Linked DNA regions of Homo sapiens: region 2 is linked to region 1. Evidence: promoter capture Hi-C in 16 types of primary human blood cells and fetal thymus (Javierre and others, 2016). All regions are on one chromosome and are shown on one strand. Each heading gives the region's core, a stretch centred on a gene start or on the middle of the fragment in contact. The rest is flanking DNA. Distances are from core to core; before and after follow the strand shown.

The links. The method cuts DNA at HindIII sites, captures the fragments that hold promoters and counts their contacts. A CHiCAGO score of 5 or more calls a contact.
Region 2: a contact is called between a fragment that was not itself captured here and the fragment with the promoter of VCPKMT in region 1, in 16 of 17 cell types (naive CD4 T cells, naive CD8 T cells, non-activated CD4 T cells and 13 more). The highest score is 27.0, in naive CD4 T cells.

Annotation. Positions count from the first base shown.
Region 1 is chr14:50,113,704-50,119,317 of GRCh38, reverse strand. It overlaps VCPKMT (valosin containing protein lysine methyltransferase), which reads left to right and starts at 2,746. Exons shown (of 6, transcript NM_024558.3): 1 at 2,746-3,031; 2 at 3,139-3,249; 3 at 3,407-3,479; 4 at 4,914-5,033. The coding sequence starts at 2,766. It overlaps SOS2 (SOS Ras/Rho guanine nucleotide exchange factor 2), which reads left to right. Exons shown (of 23, transcript NM_006939.4): 23 at 465-2,188. The coding sequence ends at 974. RefSeq lists an enhancer at 2,750-2,809. The HindIII fragment of the contact is 15,614 bases long and covers 2,007-5,614 here.
Region 2 is chr14:49,841,807-49,847,756 of GRCh38, reverse strand. It overlaps NEMF (nuclear export mediator factor), which reads left to right. Exons shown (of 33, transcript NM_004713.6): 4 at 1,492-1,617. Among named protein-coding and RNA genes, the nearest start is that of NEMF, 8.0 kb to the left of the region's middle. The HindIII fragment of the contact is 733 bases long and covers 1,419-2,151 here.

The DNA.
Region 1 (5,614 bases), core at 1,497-3,996:
TTGCTTTTCTAACAAGTTCCCTACTGATGCTGATGTTGTTGGTCTCTGGATCACACTTTGAGATCTACTGCTCTAAGCCTCACTGGAGAAAGTAGCAGTAGATGCCCAGTAAGCAGAAGCTAGACATTAAAGTCCTCTAGACATCATGTCCTTTCATGTCTATAAAGCAATAAATTATTGTCACTTACCTACTATTATAATTAAAATACATAAATTTCTGAAATGTATACACAAAGCAAGATAAAGAGTTAGGACCTAAGACTTAAATTAAAACATCTCATATATAAAAATATTAAACCCAGCCCTGAATTAATCTAGGAGTACTCATAATCTGATAATTAACCCAGATTAGTTTATTTTGAGCCTCTGAATTTAACTTGACAAGTAAGAATTTTTCAGACTTAAAAATTTTTTTTTTTAATTTTTCAGAATAGAGGTATAATTTAATTACTTTTTTTTTTGAGGGAAATATGAAATCTGATGATGATCCTCCTGCTATTCCACCGAGACAGCCTCCTCCTCCAAAGGTAAAACCCAGAGTTCCTGTTCCTACTGGTGCATTTGATGGGCCTCTGCATAGTCCACCTCCGCCACCACCAAGAGATCCTCTTCCTGATACCCCTCCACCAGTTCCCCTTCGGCCTCCAGAACACTTTATAAACTGTCCATTTAATCTTCAGCCACCTCCACTGGGGCATCTTCACAGAGATTCAGACTGGCTCAGAGACATTAGTACGTGTCCAAATTCGCCAAGCACTCCTCCTAGCACACCCTCTCCAAGGGTACCGCGTCGATGCTATGTGCTCAGTTCTAGTCAGAATAATCTTGCTCATCCTCCAGCTCCCCCTGTTCCACCAAGGCAGAATTCAAGCCCTCATCTGCCAAAACTGCCACCAAAGACTTACAAACGGGAGCTTTCGCACCCCCCATTGTACAGACTGCCTTTGCTAGAAAATGCAGAAACTCCCCAATGACCTTAGCCATATGTAGTCATTGACACTGGAATGGTATTTGTAAAGTTTTTTTTTTAATTTATTCAAAAAAAGACATAGTATTTTAGTACTTTTTACAAATAATGCTCTTACAAAAATGCTACTGATCAAATAAGCTTTTAAGAATTGGAAAAATAAAAATACAAAAGTCCTTCACCATTATCCTCAGGTGATCAGTAGCATTGCCTTGTCTTGGATCCTCAGTGCTGCCAAAAGGCCAGTATAAAGAATTTATATTTGCACTGTAAACTCTGCAAAAATATGGTTTAAAGTGACATGATTGCACTGAAAAGGGATAGTGCTTTTGTGAAATTTTTCAAATTTGAGTAATAGATGCCTTTTTAAGGCAGTGAATTTACACAAATATGGGAGGGGTATATGGTGTTACTGATTTTTAAACCTCTTTGACCATCTTCTAGTTTTTACTTCTAGTTTTTACATCTAGGAGAATTGTGAATAACACCAACTGTTCTTAAACTCTTTAATGCCATGTCTTAAATGCCGGTATTTGCTGCTGAAGACAAAAATGAAAAGTAGGATGAAAATAATAGAATGGCACTGTAAGTGTTTATTATTTTGTCAAAATGTAAACAAAGACTACATAACCCAATGATGGAGGGAAAAAGGGCATGTATCTCATTCAGATGTGCCTTTTGTTTTTGCAGACTATGACGTCTTTAGCTAATGAATTGCCTATTGTTATGGAAAACAGTTAATATGCCATGTATGTACAGTTTTGTTTATATTGTATATTTAAAGATACTGCTAATAACCTATATAAATTTAAGTGACTTGAGGCCTATAATACAATCTGCTACTTTACTAATTCATAAATTCAAAAAAAATTCTATGGCATAGGAACCAACTGCCTTGCCTTCAAGACCTAGTAACTTTCTCTATAAATCTCGTGTTAACTGAAATTTTTTTTAAATATATTTTTTAGATTGGTAATATTTAAACCAGCAAATACTTAAAGCTTTATTAAACATTTTAATCAGATAAGTGAGTAAAGCTTTTATTTGCCATTTGGATGCCTTCGTTCAAAGTGATAGAGTGTTTTGCTGATAGTGCTGTAGCAGCAGTTGTAAAGTAGCCAAAAGCCACGTTGTTTATTTACTGGTTTGTGGCCTTTTACTGTGCTTTGTATCAGAGTTCTTAACAAGATTAATAAATCACCCCAGTCTTAATTTTTAAAAGACTTTTAAAATATGTGTTTTCATTATAAGGAACAAAGGGGGAGATTGTTGAGTCCTATAGACACACACACACACACACACAATTTTTTCTTCACTGTTAAATGTGAGCTGCAGGCTTCTAGCAACCACTTTTATGAATTCATACAAAAAACTAGGAGCATACTAGGAACTTGAAAAGGAAGATTGTAAGATTATAGCCATCTTTGGTAGGATCTTGGAAGCTGATTGCATTTAAGCCTTGTAACTACTATGTAAATCAAGTGTCCAACTTGGTAAACTCTGAGGTTGGCTTTGTTTTTTAAAGAGCAGATTATAATAGTTTTGTCTGGGAAAGTGATTTAAACGGCCTCTTCGTTAAGCCAAACGTGTGATTTAGGGTAGAGGGAGGCTGCCAAGCGCGTCGGGTAAGCAGGGGCCCCACGCTCGGCCCCGCCCAGGTAACGCTGCCTTCCGGGCTTTGTTAACTCGCGCGCGCTGCGTCGCCAACTCAGCGGCGGGCAGGGGGCGGAGCCGCAGGGCGGGGCGGTGCGCGTTGATGTGACGTCCCTGCGCGCGCCGCTTTCTGTTGCCGGGCGCAATGGCGGATACGCTGGAGTCCTCGCTGGAGGACCCACTGCGGAGCTTTGTGCGAGTTTTGGAGAAGCGGGATGGTACAGTGCTACGACTACAGCAGTATAGCTCCGGTGGCGTGGGTTGCGTTGTGTGGGACGCTGCCATTGTCCTTTCTAAATACCTGGAAACGCCCGAGTTTTCTGGCGACGGGGCCCACGCGCTGAGCCGGCGGTCGGTGCTGGAGCTGGGTTCGGGCACCGGGGCCGTGGGGCTCATGGCTGCTACCCTCGGGTAAGAGCTGGCGGGCGGGCGGGATGTGGGGGCGCCTTCTTGCTGGGGAAATCCGGATTACAGGCTTTCCCCCCTGTGCCTACACCTCAGTCGACGTTATTTTATAGGGCTGATGTTGTAGTCACCGATCTTGAGGAATTGCAAGACTTGCTGAAGATGAATATTAATATGAACAAGCATCTTGTCACTGGTTCTGTTCAAGCCAAGGTACTGAAATGGTTTGTATGGCCTTTCAGCTTGTTTTAAGATATTGATTTGTAGTTTGTTTTGAATTGCGTTTCATTAAAAGGATGGAAGGGGACTTTCCGGTTCTTTATAAAACAAGAGTATTTTGAATTATTAAAACAATTGAAATATTTGTTTGGCATTTTTAAGGGGGGAAGAAATAGAAGGCTTTCCTTCTCCACCCGACTTCATACTGATGGCCGACTGCATATACTATGAAGAGGTAAGTATCCAGTGAGCGAAGTCTCTTCACTTAGAAGATGAACCTTATTCCATGAATTCTAAAGCACACGTTTCTTCACATTTTAACATCTTTGAATCCGGGATTTGCCTTATAGTTGATGCAGTAAAGAGAAGATAAAAGTCACCAGGGACCATATGTATATACGCTCATCATTATCATACCGACCTGGTGAAGCATGTTGAGAAAAGTGTTATATGCATTTTACTAGAGGCTTCTGTAAAAATTTTAAAGGATTTTGCCAATTGGATGTTATGAAAAGCCAAAATCCTCTCTTTTTCCCTTGGTTGTTCCCACGGAACATGTTAACCATGACATTGAGAATTAAGTTATAAATAATTCATTGTTCTTTTCTTTAAATACCAGTTTGGGCCGGGCGCGGTGGCTCACGCCTGTAATCCCAACACTTGGGAGGTCAAGGCAGGTGGCTCACCTGAGGTCGGGAGTTCGAGACCAGCCTGACCTACATGGCAAAACCCTGTCTCTACTAAAAATACAAAATTAGCCAGGCGTGGTGGTGCATGTCTGTAATCCTAGCTATTTGGGAGTCTGAGGCAGGAGAATCGCTTGAACCTGGGAGGCGGAGGTTGCAGTGAGCCGAAATCATGCCATTGCATTCCAGCCTGGGCAACAAGAGCAAAACTCTGTCTCAAAAAAAAAAAAAAAAAAAAAAAACATCAGTTTGTATAGTGTTGTGGGCATCGATTATTTTAAAAATAATTAGCATTGAACCAAGTTAGGGTCAGATTTAACTTTTGTAGGGAAATCGTTGATTATTTAAATCCCAAATTAGATTAAATAAAATTAAACTTTTAAGAGTAAGGTTGATTCCATTTGTTTCCCATGAGAACTCCAAAATGCAGTCATCTGAATCCTTTTTCTGGAAACCAAAATCAGTACATGGTTTAGTTAACAGGAGCTTACCCAATCATTAGTTACAGAGGGGTTTTTGTTTGTTTGTTTTTGTTTTAAGATAGGGGTCTTGCTCTGTCACACATGTTGTAGTGCAGTGGAGTGATCATAGCTCACTGTAACCTCGAGCTCCTGAGGCTCAAGTAATCCTCCCATTCAGCCTCCTCAATAGCTGGGACTATAGGTGTGCACCAGCATGCTGGCTAATTTTTAAATTTTTTGTAAGGTGTTGCGGGGGGTGGTTTGTCTCTCGCTGTATTCTCCAGGCTGGTCTTCAACTCCTGCTTTCAAGCGATCTTTCCACCTCTGCCTTCCAAAGTGTTGATATTACAGGTGTGAGCCACTGCACCTAGCCTAGAGCTTTAATTACATGTGCTTTGTTGGATTGATTCAAAGATGGATAAATTGTAGGGGAGCTATAAATACCCCTGTACCTCCTCAACCTACTTTTAGAGTAGAAAAATTTTTAAATCAAAAACAAAAAATATATTCTTTTTTAAATAGTCTTTGGAGCCATTGCTGAAAACTCTAAAAGATATCAGCGGATTTGAAACTTGTATTATATGTTGTTATGAACAACGAACAATGGGGAAAAATCCAGAAATTGAGAAAAAATATTTTGAGGTAAGTATTAAGTACTCTATTATCTTTGTAGTGATTTCCCTTCAGGGGGGCTGTATGTGACTCTTCAAGTATATTATGGTAATTTTGGGTGGGGAAAACATGCTGTTTGTGTGAAGCTGAGGAAAGGATCTTCACAGCCCATGATTCTACGAAGCTCCCCTTTTTCATCTTTTCTGATACTTTATTTCATTTCTAATTAGTTGATCTATGGCTACAGAAGAATGTTAATACGGGTGCCACTCCTTTTTAAGAACAGTTTTCAGTGTTTATTAAACATGATGCTGCCTTTGGGGAACATCTCAATGATGTATGTATTACCTTTGGAGAATACGTGATAGAAATGTGCAGGTGATAAGTTGTTTTTGTTTTGAGACAGGGTTTCACCCTGTAGCCCATGCCGGAGTGCAGTGGCACAGTCAGGGCTCACTGCATCCTCAACCTCCTGGGCTCAAGTGATCCTCCTGCCTCAGTGTCACCCCCCCCCCCCCCCGCCCCCAAGTAAGTGGGACTATAGGCATGTACCACCACACCCGGCTAACTTTTTGTATTTTTTTGTAGAGATGGGGTTTTCCCATGTTGCC
Region 2 (5,950 bases), core at 536-3,035, 270 kb after region 1:
CCTGGCAAAGACTCTCTTAAAGAAAAAAAAAAAAAAAAAAAAAAAAAAAAGAATTGGTAGGGGTAACTGGATATAAGGTGGTGGACTATTTACAGGATACCATAAGCCATAAGCTCATGGTCCATAGTTGATATGTATTAGAAGTAGAAGATTAGTGGAAACAATTAATTAATTTTGAACATAAATGAAGCATACAAAAGGGAAATTTGGCATACTTAGAAGTGTCATCAAAGAGACTTAAAAAAAATAAAGGGACTGGGTGTGGTGGCTCACGCCTGTAATCCTAACACTTTGGGAGGCCGAGGTGGGCAGATTGCCTGAGCTCAGGAGTTCGAGACCAGCCTGGGCAACGTGGAGAAACCCCGTCTCTACTAAAATACAAAAAATTAGCCAGGCGTGGTAGTGGGCGCCTGTAGTCCCAGCTACTCTTGGGAGGGTGAGGCAGGAGGATTGCTTGAACCTGGGAGGCAGAAGTTGCAGTGAGCCAAGATTGTGCTACTGTACTCCAGCCTGGGTGACAAAGTGAGACTCCGTCTCCAAATAAATAAATAAATAAATAAATAAGTAAAGGTTGGCTGGGCACAGTGGCTCATGCCTGTAATCCCAGCACTTTGGGAGGCTGAGGTGGGCGGATCACGAGGTCAGAACTTCGAGACCAGCCTGACCAACATGGTGAAACCCCGTCTCTACTAAAAATAGAAAAATTAGCCGGGTGTGGTGGCACACGCCTGTAATTTCAGCTACTCAGGAGGCTGAGGCAGGAGAATCACTTGAACCTGGGAGGCGGAGGTTGCAGTGAGCTGAGACTGTGCCACTGCATTCCAGTCTGGGCGACAGAGCGAGACTCTCTCTCAAAATAAAGTAAATAAATAAAGGTTGTGGCTTATGAGTGAGGTCATTAGGACCACAACAAGGAATTTAGCAGTGGTATAAAGCAACAAAGCAAATTTTGCTATAGGTCCATCATTCTCTACTTAAAAATTGAAAATAAAAGCCTGGCTCAGTAGCTTACGCTTGTAATCCCAGCACTTTGGGAGGCCAAGGCAGGAGGATTGCTTGTGCCCAGGAGTTTGAGATTAGCCTGGGCAACATAGTGAGACCCTGTCTCTACAAATAATGAAAAAATTAGCTGGGGATAGTGGCATGTGCCTGTGGTCCCAATCCTCAGGAGGCTGATGCAGGAGGATCACCTGAGCCAGGGAAGTCGAGGCTGCAGCGAGCCATGATCACACCACTGGGCTCCAGTTTGGGTGACAGAGTGAGACCCTGTCTTAAAAAAATGCAAATAAAACACTGTTTCAGAGTTAGTGTTTATAATAAAATGTTTTCCCTCTGATTATCATCTGCAATCTATTACTTTATGACTATACTGTTATTCACAACGTTTTAAATATTCCTGATGATAATGAAAAGAAGCTTATTTATAAACCAATACCAAATGGTTAGGAATTCACTTTTACTAAATGAATGCCTTTTTCTTTCTCTTGCTAGTGCCGAAAACATTTGAAGAGTCGGAGATTAGTCAGTGCAAAACAGCTTGGTGTGGATAGAATTGTAGATTTTCAATTTGGAAGTGATGAAGCTGCTTACCATTTAATCATTGAGCTCTATGATAGGGTAAGTTAAATTTGTGGGATATGGTGAAGGAAAATTTCTTATTAATCATTTTGTAATAGTGCTATATAACATGAGTGGGGGAACATTTTTTTTCTGTGTCAAAGGTTGTTACTACCCTAGGAAATGGGTGCCACACAAATAAAATAAAATTTTCCAGTAATAACCTTCATTTTATCTGTAGGTCTGAGTTTAGGCAGACTTTAGCCATTTAGAATAGCCTTATGAATGTAGGAGATGAAGATCTGAGAAGTAAATTATTTGGTACTTGACATTTCAGGACTAATATGCAACCAGAAAATAGTCAAATACGGTCATGCACTGATGCGCTGTATGTATAGTGATGTTTCAGTCAACAACAGACTGCATATAAACGTTGGTCCTGTAACATTGTAATGGATCTAATAAATTCTTACTGCTTAGTGACATCTTGATCCTGACTCTGTGTAGGCCTAGGCTGGTGTGTGAGTTTGTGTGTTAGTTTTTAACAAAAACATTAAAAGTAAAAACAAAACAATTTAAAATGGAAAAAAAGCTTAGAGAATATGGATCTAAAGAAAGAAAGTATTGTACAGCTGTACGATATGTGTTTTAAGCTAAGTGTTATTACAAGAGTCAAAAAGCTAAAAAGTTTAAAGTTTATAAAGTAAAAAAGTTCCAGGAAGCAAAGGTTAATTTATTATTGAAGAAAGAAAAACATCTTAAAAATAAATTTGGCTGAGCGCAATGACTCAGGCCGGGCACAGTGGCTCACACCTGTAATCCTAGCATTTTGGGAGGCCGAGGAGGGCGGATCACCTGGGGTCAGATCACCTGGGGTCAGGAGTTCAAGACCAGCCTGGCCAACATGGCAAAACCCCGTCTCTATTAAAAAATACAAAAATTAGCTGGGCGTGGTGGCGGGCACCTATAATCCCAGCTACTCGGGAGGCTGAGGCAGGAGAATCACTTGAACCTGGGAGGCAGAGGTTCCAGTGAGCTCAGATTGTGTCACTGTGCTCCAGCCTGGGCAACGGAGCAAGACTTTGTCTCAAAAATAAACTAACTAACTAACTAACTAACTAACTTAATCTGGGCCAGGTGTGGTGGCTCACACCTGTAATCCCAGCACTTTGGGAGGCCAAGGCGAGTGGATCACCTGAGGTCAGGAGTTTGAGACCAGCCTGCCCAATGTGGCAAAACTGCATCTCTACTAAAAATACAAAAATTAGCCTGGTGTGGTGGTGCGTGCCTGTAGTCCCAGCTACTCGGGAGGCTGAGGCAGGAGAATCACTTGAACCTGGGAGGCAGTGGTTGCAGTGAGCTGAGATCATGCCATTGTACTCCAGCTCAGGTGACAGAGTGAGATTCAGTCTCAAAAAGGAAAAAAAAAATATATGTGTGTGTGTGTGTGTGTGTGTGTGTGCGCGCGCGTGCGCGTGCGTGTGTATGTATATAAATAAATAAATACATAAATTTAATCTGGTCTGAGGTAAGCATAATTTTTTTAAAAATTAAAAAATAAAAAACAAATTTAGTGTAGCCCAAGTGTGCAGTATTTATCAAGTCTACAGTAGTATGCAGTAATGTCCCAGGCCTTCACATTTACTCACTGTCACTCACCCAGAGCAGTTTTCAGTCCTGCATGCTCCATTCATGGTAAGTGCCCTATACAGGTGTTCCATTTTTAATCTTTTATACCAGGGATCTTCAACCCCTGTGCCGCAGACTGGAACTGGTCTGTGGAACCAGGCCACACGGCAGGAGGTGAGCAGTATGCGAGTGAGCATTACTCACCTGAGCTCTGCCTCCTGTCAGATCAGTGGTGGCATTAGATTCTTATAGGAGCGTGAACCCTATTGTGAACTGTGCATGCAAGGGATCTAGGTTGCATGCTTCTTGCGAGAATCTAATGCCTGATGATCTGAGGTGGAACAGTTTCATCCGGAAACCATACCCCTGCACCCCCCATCCATGGAAAAATTGTCTTCCATGAAACTGGTCCCTGGTGCCAAAGGCTGGGGACTGCGGTTTTTTTTTTGTTTTGTTTTGGTTTTTTTTTTTTGATACAGAGTCTCACTTTGTTGCCCAGGCTGCAGTGCAAGGGTGTGATCTCAGCTCACTGCAACCTCTGCCTCCCGGGTTCAAGCAATCCTAGTGCCTCAGCCTCCTGAGTAGCTGGTATTACTGGCATGTACTACCATGCCCAGCTAATTTTTGTATTTTTAGTAGAGATGGGGTTTCACCATATTGGCCAGACTGTTCTCAAACTCCTGACCTCAGGTGATCTGCTCGCCTTGGCCTCCCAAAATGCTGGGATCACAGGCATGAGCCACTGCGCCCGGCCTGGAACTGTTGTTGTAATACCATATTTTTACTGTACTTTTTCTATATTTAGATGTACTTAGATACACAAATACTTGCTATTGTATTACAGTTGACTACAGTATTCAGTAACATGCTATACAGATTCCTAGCCTAGGAGCAATAGGTTATATCATATCTTTGGTGGATGTATTAGGCTACACCGTCTAGGTTTGTGTAAGTATACTCTATTACGTTCACACGACATCGAAGTTGCCTAAATGCATTTCTTAGAATGTATCCCCATTGTTAAGCAATGCATGACATTGGGTCTGCCTTCTTTTATGCAATATTTTTTATTTTTTTGAGATAGAGTCTTGCTCTGTTGGCCAGGCTGGAATTCAGTGGCATGATCAGGGCTTACTGCAAACTCGGCCTCCTGGGCTCAAGTGACCCTCTTGCCTTAGCCTTTCATGTAGCTGGTACCACAGATGTGCACCACCATGCCTGGCCAATTTTTTTATTTTTTGTAGAGACAGACTCTCACTTCGTTGCCCAGGCTGACCTTGGACCCCTGGCTCAAGCAATCTTCCCATCTCAACCTCCTAAGGTGTTGGGATTACGGGGGTGAGCCACCACGCCTGGCTCTTTTATTCAATATATAATGTCTGTGAGATTCATTGATGTTGAAAATTCCCTTAGCTCCACATCCTTAGCAACATTTGATATGATCTCTTAGAGCTCTTTATCTAATCTGATTATGAGCCCTTTGCTGATTATTTGTGTAGTAAATGTCCTTTTCTACTCTAACCTGAGTTTTTACTCTTTCTTTTTTTTTATTTTTTAATTTTTTTTGAGAATAAGTCTCACCCTGTCGCCAGGCTGGAGTGCAGTGGTGTGATCTTGGCTCACTGCAACCTCCGCCTCCCGGGTTCAAGCGATTCTCCTGCCTTAGCCTCCCGAGTAGCTGGGATTACAGGCACCTGCCACCACGCCCAGCTAGTTTTTGTACTCTTAGTAAAACAGGGATTCACCATGTTGGCCAGTCTGGTCTTGAACTCCTGACCTCAGATAATCTGCCCACCTTGGCCTCCCAAAGTGCTGGGATTACAGGCGTGAGCCACTGCGCCTGGCCTGCTACTAGTTTTTCAGCACTTAGTAATTTCTGGTTATCTATCTCTCTAACCAACGTAAATGGTGGCTACATTTACTGAAGCCACTTACATTGCAACCTGTCATTTCAGATGAATTTGGGATTACTCCCACCGTATTCTGTGACTATCTTGTAAACAGTTGTAAGGCATTTTTGACTGTTTTCATGGATGCTTCTTTGTATTTTAATTATACCTGTAGAGTAACTCTGATCTTCACTGTCAGTAATAAATTTGGAAGGTGGTATTCTTTCGTTAGCTTTATTTTCATTATGTTCCCCCTTCTTTTTTATTGAAAAGGTTATCTAGCAATATTAAATTTTAAAAAGTCTTTAATTCTAAATCTTTAAGAAGTAATTTCATTTTAGCCTACATATGCCTTCCATTTTCTAGGATATAACTTTTTTGTGTGTCTTTGCTATGTTTTACCTAACATTATTTATGTTTTCCTTTTTTTCTAACATTGTTTCCATTAGGTAACCTCTTTCTACTATTTTGTTGTGTTGAGCTATCATAATTTAATTTCCCTAACTTTTACATTTAGGCTGTTTGGGGTTTTTTTTTTCTATTGTAGATAAATTTCAGTGAACATCTTTTTTTTTTGAGACGGAGTTTCGCTCTTGTTGCCCAGGCTGGAGTGCAATGGCGTGATCTCGGCTCACAGCAACCTCCGCCTCCCAGGTTCAAGCCATTCTCCTGCCTCAGCCTCCTGAGTAGCTGGGATTACAGGCATGCGCCACCATGCCTGGCTAATTTTGTATTTTTAGTAGAGACGGGGTTTCTCCATGTTGGTCAGGCTGGTCTTGAACTCCGGACCTCAGGTGATCTGCCCGCCTCAGCCTCCCACAGTGCTGGGATTACAGGCGTGAGCCACTGCGCCCAGCCATTCAGTGAACATCTTT